Regions from separate parts of the Homo sapiens genome. Here region 1 is linked to region 2. The links are contacts of gene promoters, found by promoter capture Hi-C in blood cells and fetal thymus (Javierre and others, 2016). All regions are on one chromosome and are shown on one strand. The core of a region is centred on a gene start or on the middle of the fragment in contact, and the rest is flanking DNA. Distances in the headings are between cores, read along the strand shown. Region 1 has its middle 140 kb from the start of ATF7IP. Region 2 holds the start of SMCO3 (single-pass membrane protein with coiled-coil domains 3).

Region 1 (7,230 bases), core at 3,709-6,208, 590 kb after region 2:
ATTTATTTATTTTTAAATATCTTTTATTACACTAGTCAGAGAAATTAGAATTTCATTTAATTCTTATTTATCTTTAGATAAATTCATCATTTAATTTTTGTCAACCGTTTAAAAATATGAAGACGATTCTTAGCTTACGGACTATACAAAAATGTATCAGGATGAATTTGGTCTGTGGGTTGCAATTTTCTTATACTTGGGTTAGATTATGGCAGAAAACAAGAAAATTGACATTGACACCTAAGGAAAGACCATGAAAGTATACTGCTGACTCTACCAGGTGAAGGCAAACTGTTCCTGTGATCCTTACACATTGTTATTACAGAAATAAACATATAACACTGCAGAATAGACGCCACAGGCTGTATTGATTCACTCCACTAAAGAAACCATATCTGAAACAGTAGCTGCAACTGAACTCACCACCTAATTTATTTTATGATAATCTATAGTCAGTCTCCATGATACCTCTGCCTTCTGACATGTCATATAAGCAAGTTAAATGGTAATGTAATAGGAATCACTACCTTAGAATCTCAAGTTTTTGATAGTAACACTAATCTCTGCTATTCCTCCAAAGAATTTTAAAGTATAATAAAATACAATTAGTTAGAAATAATTATGTAGAGTATAATGGTGATTTACATATATATGTTTTTATGCATATATATATAACTAACGTATATATTACACTATTAAAATGGTTTTTATTGGCCAGGAGTGGTGGCTCACACTTGTAATCCCAGCTCTTAGGGAGGCAGAGGCAGGAGGATAGCTTGAGCTCAAGAGTTCGAGACCTGCCTGGGCAATATAGTGAGATCCTGTTCTAAAAAAAAAAAAAGTTTTTATTTGGTCATGGAATTATGTTTAATATTTTTTACTTTTGTACTTTTAAATATTTCATTTCTTGCAATGAACATATATTCCTTTACAGTCATAAAAAAAATCTAGTTTGGGCGGGGCGCCATGGCTCACGCCTGTAATCCCAGCACTTTGGGAGGCGGGTGGATCACCTGAGGTCGGGAGTTCGAGACCAGCCTGACCAACATGGAGAAACCTCGACTCTGCTAAAAATACAAAATTAGCTGGGTGTGGTGGTGCATGCCTGTAATCCTAGCTACTCAGGAGGCTGAGGCAGGAGAATCACTTGAACCTGGGAGGCAGAGGTTACGGTGAGCCGAGATCACGCCATTGCACTCCTGCCTGGGCAACAAGAGCAAAACTTCGCCTCAAAAAAAAAAAAAATCTAGTTTGTTTTTTATGTGAATCACTTTTATTTTTAAACTTTTTGTAGAAGCCAGCTGTGGTGGCTCAAGCCTGTAATCCCAGCACTTTGGGAGGCCGAGGTCGGTGGGTCGCTTGATCTCAGGAGTTTGAGATCATCCTGGGCAACATGGTGAAACCCCATCTCTACAAAAAATCCAAAAATTAGCCAGAAATGGTGGCTCGTGCCTGTAATCCCAGCTACTTGGGGGGCTGAGGCGGCAGGATTGCTTGAGCCCAGGAGGCGGAGGTTGCAGTGAGTTGAGACTGTACCACTGCACTCCAGCCTGGGCAGGCAGAGTGGAAACCCTGTCTCAAAAAACAAAACAAAACCCAACTTTTTGTAGATATGAGGTCTATGTTGCCCAGACTTGTCTCAAACTCCTGGTCTCAAGTGATTCTCCTGCCTCAGCCTCCCAAAGTGCTGGGATTATAGAAGTGAGCCACTGTCTCTGGCCTGAATCACTGTTAAAGTCAGAAAACTAAATTTAACTAGATGAGGGTCTATAAATGTAATCCTGAGAATAGTTGTACCAAAACTAACCTCAGCAGATTTAAATGTTTGAATCAAAAGTCACTACACCAATTTCACAACAATTTCAAATAGCTCATTATTCTTATTTTATTCTTTAATTAAATATTTGAATTAACACACATTTGGTCTTTATCATTTTACATATATTTTCAAACAGAATCCTCAAAGCTTTAACTTTTAAGTGAAAGAAAATTAATTAATGGTACATGATTTTTATAAATGCTTCCCATACTAGTGTTAATAGTGTATGAAATACATAACATTAAACTAACTAGACAATTCAGTACTGTTGCGTTTAACCACTGTGTTATTAAGATAGAGGAAGGGCTGGGCGTGGTGGCTCACGCCTGTAATCCCAGCACTTTGGGAGGCCGAGGCGAGTGTATCATGAGGTCAGGAGATTGAGACTATCCTGGCTAACACGGTGAAACCCCGTCTCTACTAAAAATAAAAAAAAATTAGCCAGACGTGGTGGCGGGCACCTATAGTCCCAGCTAGTAGGGAGGCTGAGGCAGGAGAATGGCGTGAACCTGGGAGGCGGAGCTTGCAGTGAGCCGAGATCACGCCACTGCACTCCAGCTTGGGCGACAGAGCGACTCTGTCTCAAAAAAACAAAAAAACAAAAATATTTTGTGAAGACATACCAAGTATGGTGTCCAGACCCTACTTCAGTGAAGGAATTGTTTTCCCAACTACTGGGAGTGCTACGAGGGGAAAGCCTTCAGCTAGCAGTGTCTTCAGGGACTGCATCAGCTTCCTGTGTGACTAAGGTGGGGCACCCTTACCAGGACAGCCTACATCCAGTGATCAAGGTGGAGGTATAAAGGCCTGGCTGTTTTAGTCCACTGTGGGACAACTCTGCCAATTCAGCTTCCTTTTAAGAAAATTAAGCTAGGGTCAGGCGTGGTGGCTCACGCCTGTAATCCCAGCACTTTGGGAGGCCAAGGCGAGTGGATCACGAGGTCAGGAGATCGAGACCACACTAGCTAACACGTTTAAACCCCATCTCTACTAAAAATACAAAAAATTAGCTGGACATGGTGGCGGGCACCTGTAATCCCAGCTACTCGGGAGGCTGAGGCAGGAGAATGGCATGAACCTGGAAGGCGGAGCTTGCAGTGAGCTGAGATTGCGCCACTGCACTCCAGCCTGGGAGGCAGGGATACTGTCTCAAAAAAAAAAAAAAAAAAAAAGAAAATTCATCTGGGATTTTTTTTTCTTTTCTTTCTTGAGACAGAGTCTCGCTCTGTTGCCCAGGCTGAAGTGCAGCGGCGCAATCTTGGCTCACTTCAACCTTGGCCTCCTGGGTTCAAGCGATTCTGCTGCCTCAGCCTCCTGAGTAGCTGGGATTACAGGGGCCTGCCACTGTGCCCAGCTAATTTTTTTGTATTTTTAGTAGAGATGGGGTTTCACCATGTTGGCCAGGCTGGTCTTGAACTCCTGACCTCAAGTGATCTGCCCACCTCGGCCTTCCAAAGTGCTGGGATTACAGGCGTGAACCACCACGCCCTGCCCTTTTTTCTTTTTTCTTTTCTTTTATTTTTTTTGACGGAGTCTTGCTCTGTCACCCAGGCAGGAGTGCAGTAGTGCAATCTCGGCTGGCTGAAAGCTCCGCCTCCCGGGTTCATGCCATTCTCCTGCCTCAGCCTTCCGAGTAGCTGGGACTACAGACGCCCGCCACCACGCCCAGCTAACTTTTTGTATTTTTAGCAGAGACGGGGTTTCACCATGTTAGCCAGGATGGTCTTGATCTCCTGACCTTGTGATTGCCTGCCTTGGCCTCCCAAAGTGCTTGAGATTATAGCCTTCTGTTTTTTTTTGTTTTTTTTTTTTTTTTTTTTTTTGAGCCAAGATATGGCTGTGTTGCCCAGGCTGGAATGCAGTGGAATGAACCCGGCTCACTGCAACCTCCTGGGCTCAAGTGATCCTCCCACCTCAGCCTCCTGAGTAGCTAGGACTACAGGCACCTACCACCACTCCCAGCTATTTTTTTTTTTTTTGTATTTTTTGTAGAGATGGGGTTTTGCCATGTTGCCCACACTGGTCTTGAACTCCTTGTCTCAATCGATCTGCCTTCCTTGGTGTGAGTCACTGTACCAGGCTGGGATTCTTTTTTTTTTTTTATGGCAGCAAGATTTAGTAAAGCGAAAGGGAAAGTAAAGGGAACGCAAAAGTAAAGCTTCCATGTGGTGGAAGGGGACCCAGAAGGATTGTGTTTTTTGGCTTGGGTGTCTTATGCTTATATCCCCTTATGACTCCTCCCCTTTTCTTTTTCTGTCCTATAGGATTGGCTAATTTTCTATCCACTTGTGGGTTGGCAGACCTGATTGGTTAAAAACATCAGGCTGCAGCTAGAGCTTGAACTCCCTATATGATTGGTTGAAGTTTCAATCCCTTAGTTTGTAGCTGTGACTCATTTTGGCTTAGGGGAAAGTCCCCTTTGATTGGTTGAAGTTTCAATCCCTTTAGCTTGCAGCTATGACTAATTTTGGCTTAGGGGAAAATCCCCTTTGATTGGTTGAAGTTTTAATCTCTTAGCTTGCAGCTATGACTCATTTTGGCTTAGGGGAAAGTCACTTTAGGGAAGTCCCTATTGACCCAGGAAGTCCAGCCAATTTAGCCACTTAGTCCCTCAGTCCCCCCTTTCAACAGGAAAGCCCAAGTGCTGTTGGGAAGTTGGATGACGATTGTTCTAGCTACTTCCTGCTGAACTGGGGGGTAGAAGGGGCACTGCAGTTGAGGTTTCCTCAGGAGGGGAGTCTTTGGTGTCGTGGTGTGAGAACAGGTTGGTGGGTGGGTCTAGGGGTGCTTGATAGTAGGTGCTAGTGGTGGTCACTTGGGGCTCCATTTGTAGAACCATTTGCAGCTTCATGGATTCTATTCTGGAAGAGGCAAATTTTACAAGGAGGTTAAAAATGCAGGGTCCAAAGATAAGCAACATCACAATAGCCACCAAGGGCCCCAAGAAGGGGAGAAGCCAGGGCATCCATTGATTGACAATATTCCAAGGTCCTGTGTCTTGGAGCTCTTGTGCCCAGCACTGTATCCCATCTCAAAACTCCTTAACCTTCTTGGTGACAATTCTGGATTGATTAACGAAATAGCAGCACTCTTCTAGAAAAAGAGGTTCCACCTCTTTCAGCTGTTAATAAATCTAAGGCTGTCCGATTTTGAAGGGCTACTGTTGCTAAAGAATTAAGCTGGCTTTGTAAGGTGACCAGCGAATCTGCGATTCATGCCATGTCATCATTTAACTCTTGTGATAATTTGTAATAGAATTGGATGGAGGTTGTAATGCCTCCAATGCCGGTTCCTAGTCCTCCTCGTATCCCAGCTCCTATAATGAATGGTAGGACAGTCCAGGTCAGCTGAGACCCTGGGTTTGACGGATCTTTAAAGGCAAATAAAAATTGAGAGTCAGGATGCAGAGGGATGCAGAAGAAAGTGTCCTTAAGATCTAGGACTGTAAACCATTCTGCTTCCTCTGGTTTCTAGGAGAGTAGAGTATAAGGATTAGGTACAACTGGATACAGAGGAACAACTGCCTCATTGATAATTCTGAGGTCTTGCACTAACCTCCATTGTCCGTTGGGGTTTTGTATGCCTAGAATACGAGTGTTGCATGGACTGTTGCATGGTTTTACTAATCCCTGTGCTTTTAGGTCTTTGACGATCTTTTGTAATCCTTGTTGGGCTTCTGGTCTGAGGGGGTACTGCCTTTGATAAGGAAAGGAGGTAGGATCCTTTAATTTAACTTGAACTGGACAAGCATTTTTTGCTCATCTGTATTGTCCTTCCTCTGCCCAGACATCAGGATTAACTCCCTCCACGAGTAGAGGGCAGCAAACAGGTATTTCTTCTTCTATATTCAAGTTTATTATGGCCCCTCCTTTAGCTAATATGTCCCTCCCTAGTAAAGGAGTAGAGCTCTCAGGCATGATAAGAAAGGCATGTGAGAAAAATAAGGCTCCTCAGTCACAATTTAGAAGGTGGGAGAAATACCTAGTGACTGGCTGTCCTAGGACCCCTTTGATGGTGACAGACCTGGAGGATAGTTGTCCGGGACAGAAGACTAAAACTGAGAAGGCTGTGCCAGTGTCCAGGAGGAAGTTAGTTTCCTGGCCCTTAATGGTTAAGCTTACCTGGGGCTCTGTGAGGGTGATGGCACGGGCTGGCGCCTGCCATGGGTACCCTCAGTCCTGTTGTTGGACCATCAGGTTAGTGGCCTCTGGCCCAGAGGACCTTCACCCTCAGAGGTAGTGTGCCTTCCAGTGATCCCCCTGGCACAAGGGACATGGACAAGGGGGTGGCTTATTTTTGTTTGGGCAGTCCTTTTTGAAGTGCCCCTGTAAGCCGCACTGATAACAAGCCCTGTTAGGCTGGTTGCCTGCCCAGCCCTTCTTTCTTTCAGAGCCACCGAAGTTCGTCTGCCTGAGGGCCATAACTAAGGCGGGGCCATGAGTAAGGTGGCGGCCTTTTTCTTGTCTCCTCTGTCTCATTCAGCCTGCTCCTCCTGATCCCTATTATAAAACACTGAAGTTGCCAAATTCAATAGAGTTTCCAAATTTTTCTTGGGGCCTGGGGCAGACTTTTGAAGGTTTTTTCTAATGTCTGCAGCTGACTGAGTGATAAACTTATCCTTTAAAATTAGTTGGCCTTCAATAGAGTCAGGTGACAAGGAGGTATGCTTTCTTAATGCCTCTCTTAGTCTCTCTAAAAATGCTGTAGGGTTTTCTTCCTTTCCCTTCATTGTGGTTGACATCATTATGTAATTCATTGGCTTTTTTCTGGTCTTTCTTAATCCCTCTAGTATACAAGTCAGTAAATGGCTGTGCTCCAAACTGAGGTCCCAGTGGGGATCCACACTGGGAACCGCCTGTTGGCCTGTAGGGAATTGTTCCCTTTCTTCTGATCTCATTTTATCATTTACCTGGCTTAGGTACCAGAGATCCCCAAACTCCCGGGATGCAGCTAAGGTGGCCTCTTCTTTGTTGGGAGTTAATGCTTGACCTAACAACAACAACATATTTCTCCATGCTAAATCAAAAGATTGTCCTAATCCCTGTAAGATATCTATGCGTCAATCAGGATTATCTGAGAATTTTCCTAGGTCCAGTTTGATCTGTTTTAAGTCTGAGAGGGAAAAGGGGACATGTACTTGCACTGGGCCAAAGTCTCCTTCTCCTCCCACGACTTGGAGGGGGCACAATTGAGGGCCATTGGCGCCTTTTGGTTCCTTGACTTTTTGTCTGGTTCCTTTTGGGCCATAAGGGCCACAGGAGAGTCCTTACTAGTTGGAGGGGGAGCTATGGGGAGACCTGAGTATGGGGGTAGGCTTTGAGGACCCCCAGTAGGATGTAAATTACATTTTTTTTTACATAATTGTGGGTTATCCCTTAGTGAGAAAAAAAACCTATACATATGGCACTTCA
Region 2 (6,372 bases), core at 3,371-5,870:
GTTTTTGTTGTTGTTGTTTTGAGACAGAGTCTTGCTCTGTCACCAGGCTGGCGTGCAGTGACGCAATCTCAGCTCACTGCAACCTCCGCCCCCAACCAGATTCAAGCCATTCCCCTGCCTCAGCCTCCCAAGTAGCTGGGAGTACAGGCACACACCACCATGTCCAGCTAAATTTTTTGTATTTTAGTAGAGAAGAGGTTTCACCAAGTTGGCCAGGATGGTCTCCATCTCCTGACCTCATGATCTGCCTGCCTCAGCCTCCCAAAGTGCTGGGATTACAGGCATAAGCCACTGTGCCTGGCCGGTCAACTGATTTTTAACAAAGATGCAAAGGCAATTTAACATAGAAAGTTTAGGTGTTTTCACCCTAGAAGAAAACCTAGGCAATACCATTCAGGACATAGGCATGGGCAAAGACTTCATGACAAAAATGCCAAAAGCAATTGCAACAAAAGCCAAAATTGACAAATGGAATCTAATTAAACTAAAGAGCTTCTGCGCAGCAACAGAAATTATCATCAGAGTGAACAGGCAACTTACAGAATGAAAGAAATTTTTTGCAATCTACCTACATGATAAAGGTCTAATATCTAGAATTTACAAGGAACTTAAACAAATTTACAACCCTATCAAAAAATGGGCAAAGGATATGAACAGACAGTTCTCAAAAGAAGATCTTTACACGACCAACAAATGTATAAAAAAGAAAGCTCAACAACACAGATCATCAGAGAAATGCAAATCAAAACCACAGTGAGATACCATCTCATGCCAGTCAGAATGGAGATTATTAAAAAGTCAGGAAACAACAGATGCTTGCAAGGGTGTGGAGAAATAGGAATGCTTTTACCCTGTTAGTGGGAATGTAAATTAGTTCAATCATTGTGGAAGATAGTATGGCAATTCCTCAAGGATATAGAACCAGAAATACTATTTGACCCATCAATCCCATTATTGGGTATATACCCAAAGGATTATAAATCATGCTACTATGAAGACACATGCACATGTATGTTTATTGCAGCACTATTTACAACAGCAAAGACATGGAACCAACCCAAATGCCCATCAATGATAGACTGCATAAAGAAAATGTGTTACATATACACCATGGAATACCATGCAGCCATAAAAAGGAATGAGATCATGTCCTTTGCAGGGACATGGATGAAGCCAGAAGCCATCATCCTCAGCAAACTAACACAGGAACAGAAAACCAAACACCACGTGTTCTCACTCATAAGTGGGAGTTGAACAATAAGAACACATGAACACAGAGAAGGGAACAACACACACCAGGGCCAGTTGAGGAGTGGGGGGCGAGGGGAGGGAACTTAAAGGATGGGTCAATAGGTGCAGCAAACCACCATGGCACATGTATACCTGTGTAACAAACCTGCACATTCTGCACATGTATCCTCCCTTTTGTTTTGGAAGAAATAAATAAAAACAAAAAACAAAGAAAGAACAACAACAAAAAAAGAAAGTTTAGGGTTTTTCAATGAATGGTGCTGGAAAAGCCTGATACCCATATGCAAAAACATAAACCTTGATTTTATGTCATACCATACACATACATAAATTAACTCAAAATGGGACATGAAAAATATAAAACCATAAAACAGAAGAAAATACAGAAGAAAATCTTGTAACTTTTGGTTAGCTGATTAGTCCTTTGATATGTATGACACCAAAAGCATATCCATTAAAGAAAAAACGATAAATTGGCCGGGCATGGTGGCTCATATATTCTTAGATTTATATTTAAGTATTTTATTTTAGTGTAATCCCAACACTTTGGGAGACTGAGGTAGGCAGATCACTTAAGGCCAGGAGTTGGAGACCAGCCTGCCCAACATGGCAAAACCCCGTCTCTACTAAAAAATACAAAAATTAGCTGGGTGTGGCACACGCCTGTAATCCCAGCTACTCGGGAGGCTGAGGGAGGAGAATTGCTTGAACCTGGGAGGCGGAGGATGCAGTGAGCCAAGATGGCACCACTGCACTCCAGCCTGGGTGACAGAGTGAGACTCTGTCTCAAAAAAAAAAAAAAAAGAGAAAATATAAAGACCTGATCAGCAATTTCAAATGCTGCAAGTATGATAAACACTGTAAATTATTTCTTATGTTTAGTCATTACAATGTCATTGACAATGCTAGAAAAGCAATTTTGCAAGAGGCAGGAATATGTACAGAAGCTAGATTATAAATACTGGAAAATTAATGGAGAAAATGAAGTAGAGGCAATGCATGTACACTACCAAACTGGGAAGTCTAACTGTGAAGAAGAAAGATAAAGGAGGCTATTGGGTCAAAAAGGTGATTATTTTTAGGTTTGCTTGATTTTTTTTTAAGTGCAGCATTCATAAGTGCTGGCAAATTGTTGAAACAATCGTAATTGAATCGGGCAGTTTATTCAGGGTCATGTAATATATGGTTTTTGAGCAGAGATTTTAGGAAAAGAAGGGGATGAGCTTTAGGATAAAAGGGAAAATAAAGCATTCTAAATAAAAGACGATCAAGTGAGAGCTACATGCAGATAAGTTTGGAGATATTATTGCTTTCACTCTCATTTCCCACCACTGTCAATCCAGCAGTGAAACTTGTCAAATCAGCCTTCCTGATTCCCTAAAACCACCCTGACTCCAAGATCTACACTAAGAAAATGTGCCTCCTTCCTAAGGTTCAGTTCTGACTATTGACTTGACGTTAATACTGGCTTTAGTAGTCAAGAAAGATTTAAGAAGTTCAAGTTTTCAACCTGAGAAACTGATTGCAGAAAAAAGAAGTTCAAGTTGATTAGGGGGCTCAGTATGAAGTCAATATTGCTTCTAGTTTTTCTCTGATAATTATTTTGCATTGTTACTGTTTATCCTTAATTTTGGCAACTCCACTTAGGCTGCTATGTGGTAGGAGAGAAAGGAGTGGATGAGTAGGCAATAAATGTTAAGAAGGGTAGAAATAGGAGAGAAACAAACACCTTAGGAACAAGTGGGTTAAATGGTACTCTTCAACAATAGCCTCTTCGGAAACAAAATGCAACTGTTTTAAGACAGGGTAAAAGACAGACATATTTTGTCCACATACTGTAGGCAATGGGGTTGGTAACTTATGCTTTATTGTCCATACCTACTAATCAAGTTTACATAATGTACCCTTCCTGAAATCCAAATCTCCAAATATTACACCATAATTAAAAGGATTTTTTAATGGTTCATTATTATCTACAGAATGAAATACAATTTCCTAGCATGACATCTAAGGCTATCTACAAACTATTTTCAATTTTCCATGACTTACCTTCCCTTAACTGCTCCCACTTACACCCTGTATCACCAGCAGGTTGGTTTTTGTTCCCTGAAAATGTTCTACAATTTTTGGTTCAGCTCCTTTGCTCTCAGTGTTCCCTCTATCTGTATTATTTCCTCTATACCACCATCCTCCCCAAACATCTATTAAAATCCTACTTAACATCCATACCTAGTTCAGATACACTGGCCACACATCCGTACGTGGTGGGGCCCTGGATACATCAAGGGCAAGATGATCCACTGGGACAAAAGTAGAAAAGTGACCCCACTTAGCCCTTCTTTAGAATCACAGGGCAGCATCTTTAGATTTTAAAGTTTCCTGTCTGCCTGTCTGGCATTTTGATTCTGTATCCTGTACCCACCCATTCTCCTCTCCCCTCCACCAGGAGATACTGTTGTTAATATATGAATAGCTACCGTTTCATAAGATTTTGCCACATATCAGCCACTATGCCAATTACTTTATAAACACTATCCCATTTAATCCATAAATTATTAACTAATACTCATATTACACCAATGGGAAAACTCAGGCTAAGTGACTTTCTTAGGATTACATGACTAGTAAGTGGTACTTGGAGTACACAAAACCAGGACTGTCTGAGTGTAAAGCCTGCTGTCTTTCACTAAGTTACACTGGGGCTGAGTGATTTCCCTGCCACTCAGGTGTCTTTGCTGTGGAGGAATTAACGGGTCTGAAGACTGAAGCTGGGAAGAAGCAGCAGGGAAGACTGATCTGAGCTTTCAGGGAAAAGAGTGAAGTTGGACTTTAAGGTTTTTATATTGTCAAGACAATTTACAAACACAGGAAGAGAAAGAATGACAAAGAGGAGAACTCCTAGCTGGAAAGAAGAGAAAAAAAAATTGGATGCAAGTAACTGCATTTATATATCTTGAGAATTTAAATAATCAGCAACAGTTAGAGGTGCAAATGCAACAGAAGCTAAAAGAAACTTAGTATCTGGAATAGTTGACAAGATAAAACCCCAAAATCTGAGAGCTGCAATCAAAGAGCCATCTTCTCTACTAAATTGAATTAGCTCAGTTATATAGCGCTTCTCAACAATAAAAAGTCCATTAAAGAACAGAAATTTAAAAATAAGTTTTACACACTATTAGTCTTCCAGTTTATATAACTTAATACTGTATACTAAGTTTTTATTAATAGGAAATGAAGGAATTCTGAGGGCCAAGCCATGTAGAAATAGCCTATAAACCAGACAGGCAGAGGGACCCAGCAGAGACTAGCAAAGTCTGTAAGTCATCACATTCCATCAGAAATATCCAGATGAAACCAGATGAAAAAGCACTTTAACAATACTCCTAAACAACTGCTAGGACCACGGAACTCAGAAACACAGCAAGGTAAGCAACGTGGATATTTCTATTAGTATTGATATAATACTCTGTTTCTCAGTAGTAGGAGGAATTTGAATTAGCCCGTCAGTCTTGAATCCTAACCATAAATAAAATAAAGTAAAAAAACAGCTTTGTTATAAGAGGATCCCATGACATGTTCCTTGTGATTTGGAAGGAACCTTTCCTGGTGCCTTCTCTGAAGACAGCAGAGAAGGAAGAAAATTAACAATTTCTAGGACTGATTAAGTCAGAGTGGAAGAGAAGCAGTAAAGACATCAATTCTAAGAAGGATTAAGGATGAAATGATACCTGTGTGAATGTGTGAAGTTTACATGGATAGTAACATTTCCTTCTATGTCATTAATATTAATATAGGCACTCAGTACCTATCTATGAAAGAATGAATGTGGAATCTAATACTGGTTAATGTATAGTACTTATACTCCTTCATAAATTATGTTGTATCTAAATATCTCTGAGCATTTGCTGTGTGTCTCCAAACAGGCTGTTATCGTCTTGAGGGCAAGGAACATTGTCGTTTTCAAATGCCTCAAGGGACACAGTAGAGGCTTCACCAGTGAGCACTTGATAAATGCTGATGAATGACTTTAATATTCTTCTTTCTGGTCAGAAACATTTTTTAAATGAATTTATATCAGAAAGTATATCATCACATCATGATCAATTTTTGTTTTAATTAAAGGCCACAGATTTTTATTTGAATTAAAGGAGACTCAGAACTAGTTAGAAGCTGTTATTTTCTTCTGAAAAGCTCCTGATTTTACCTATACCCTATTTCCACACTCCCAGATAAGGAAACTGTGCATGATGGCAAAACCCTGTTTGGACAGTGAAGAAAAGTGACAGCAAGAAGAAATGTAAAACCTCAGAGAGCACTAACGACTAAACATCAGAGGTTTAGACAGGGTCACGTTTTTCTTTTTCTTTCTTTTTTATTTGTTATAAGAAAAGTTCAAACATACACAGAAGTAGAGACAATAATATAATAAACTCCCATGTACCCATAACTCAGCTTTAAAAATTATCAAAACAAGGCCAATCTTTTTTCCTCTATAACCCTACCCCACTATTCTTTCCAGATTATTTGTGAACAAATCTCTGAGACCATTTCATTTCATCTTAAATGTTTTCAGTATGTATTTCCAAATAGGCAAGAACTTCTCTTTTTGAAATTTAACCTTACTCTTCCCAAATCAACAATATTTAAACAGGACCATCTTTGACTGGGAAATATACCAGCACTATGCTCAGTATCTGGGTGACAGGATCATTCACAGTAAACCTCAGCAACACACAGTATAGTCAGGGAACAAACCTGTGTATGTACCTCCTGAATCTAAAATAAAAATTGTAAAAATTTTATAGCAGGATACCCAGTATCCTGCTATAAAAATTTATTTGGGGTAGCACAGTAAAAGCTTTTGGAATGCAATTTACGATACATATCAAAAGTAATAAAAATTTAATTCCCATTACTTATGCCACTAATTATGTAATTCTTCTAGGTACTTATGCTGAGGAAATAATCCAGATAATGGAGGAAAAAAAATCTGTGGGTATCAAAATGCTCATTAGAATATTAGTGATAGTGAAACAATTTTAGATTTATTGAACCAGGGTAAAGACAGGGAATAGTATACGTAACCAATAAAATTTTTTTTTTTTTTGAGACGGAGTCTCC

The links. The method cuts DNA at HindIII sites, captures the fragments that hold promoters and counts their contacts. A CHiCAGO score of 5 or more calls a contact.
Region 1: a contact is called between a fragment that was not itself captured here and the fragment with the promoter of SMCO3 in region 2, in 1 of 17 cell types (neutrophils). The highest score is 5.8, in neutrophils.

The regions. Positions count from the first base shown.
Region 1 is chr12:14,218,312-14,225,541 of GRCh38, reverse strand. No RefSeq gene overlaps it. Among named protein-coding and RNA genes, the nearest start is that of ATF7IP, 140 kb to the left of the region's middle. RefSeq lists enhancers at 4,175-4,474, 4,316-5,515. The HindIII fragment of the contact is 1,958 bases long and covers 3,980-5,937 here.
Region 2 is chr12:14,812,430-14,818,801 of GRCh38, reverse strand. It overlaps SMCO3 (single-pass membrane protein with coiled-coil domains 3), which reads left to right and starts at 4,620. Exons shown (of 2, transcript NM_001013698.2): 1 at 4,620-4,676. The region is part of intron 1 of C12orf60 (chromosome 12 open reading frame 60); the gene reads right to left. The HindIII fragment of the contact is 14,101 bases long and covers 1-6,111 here.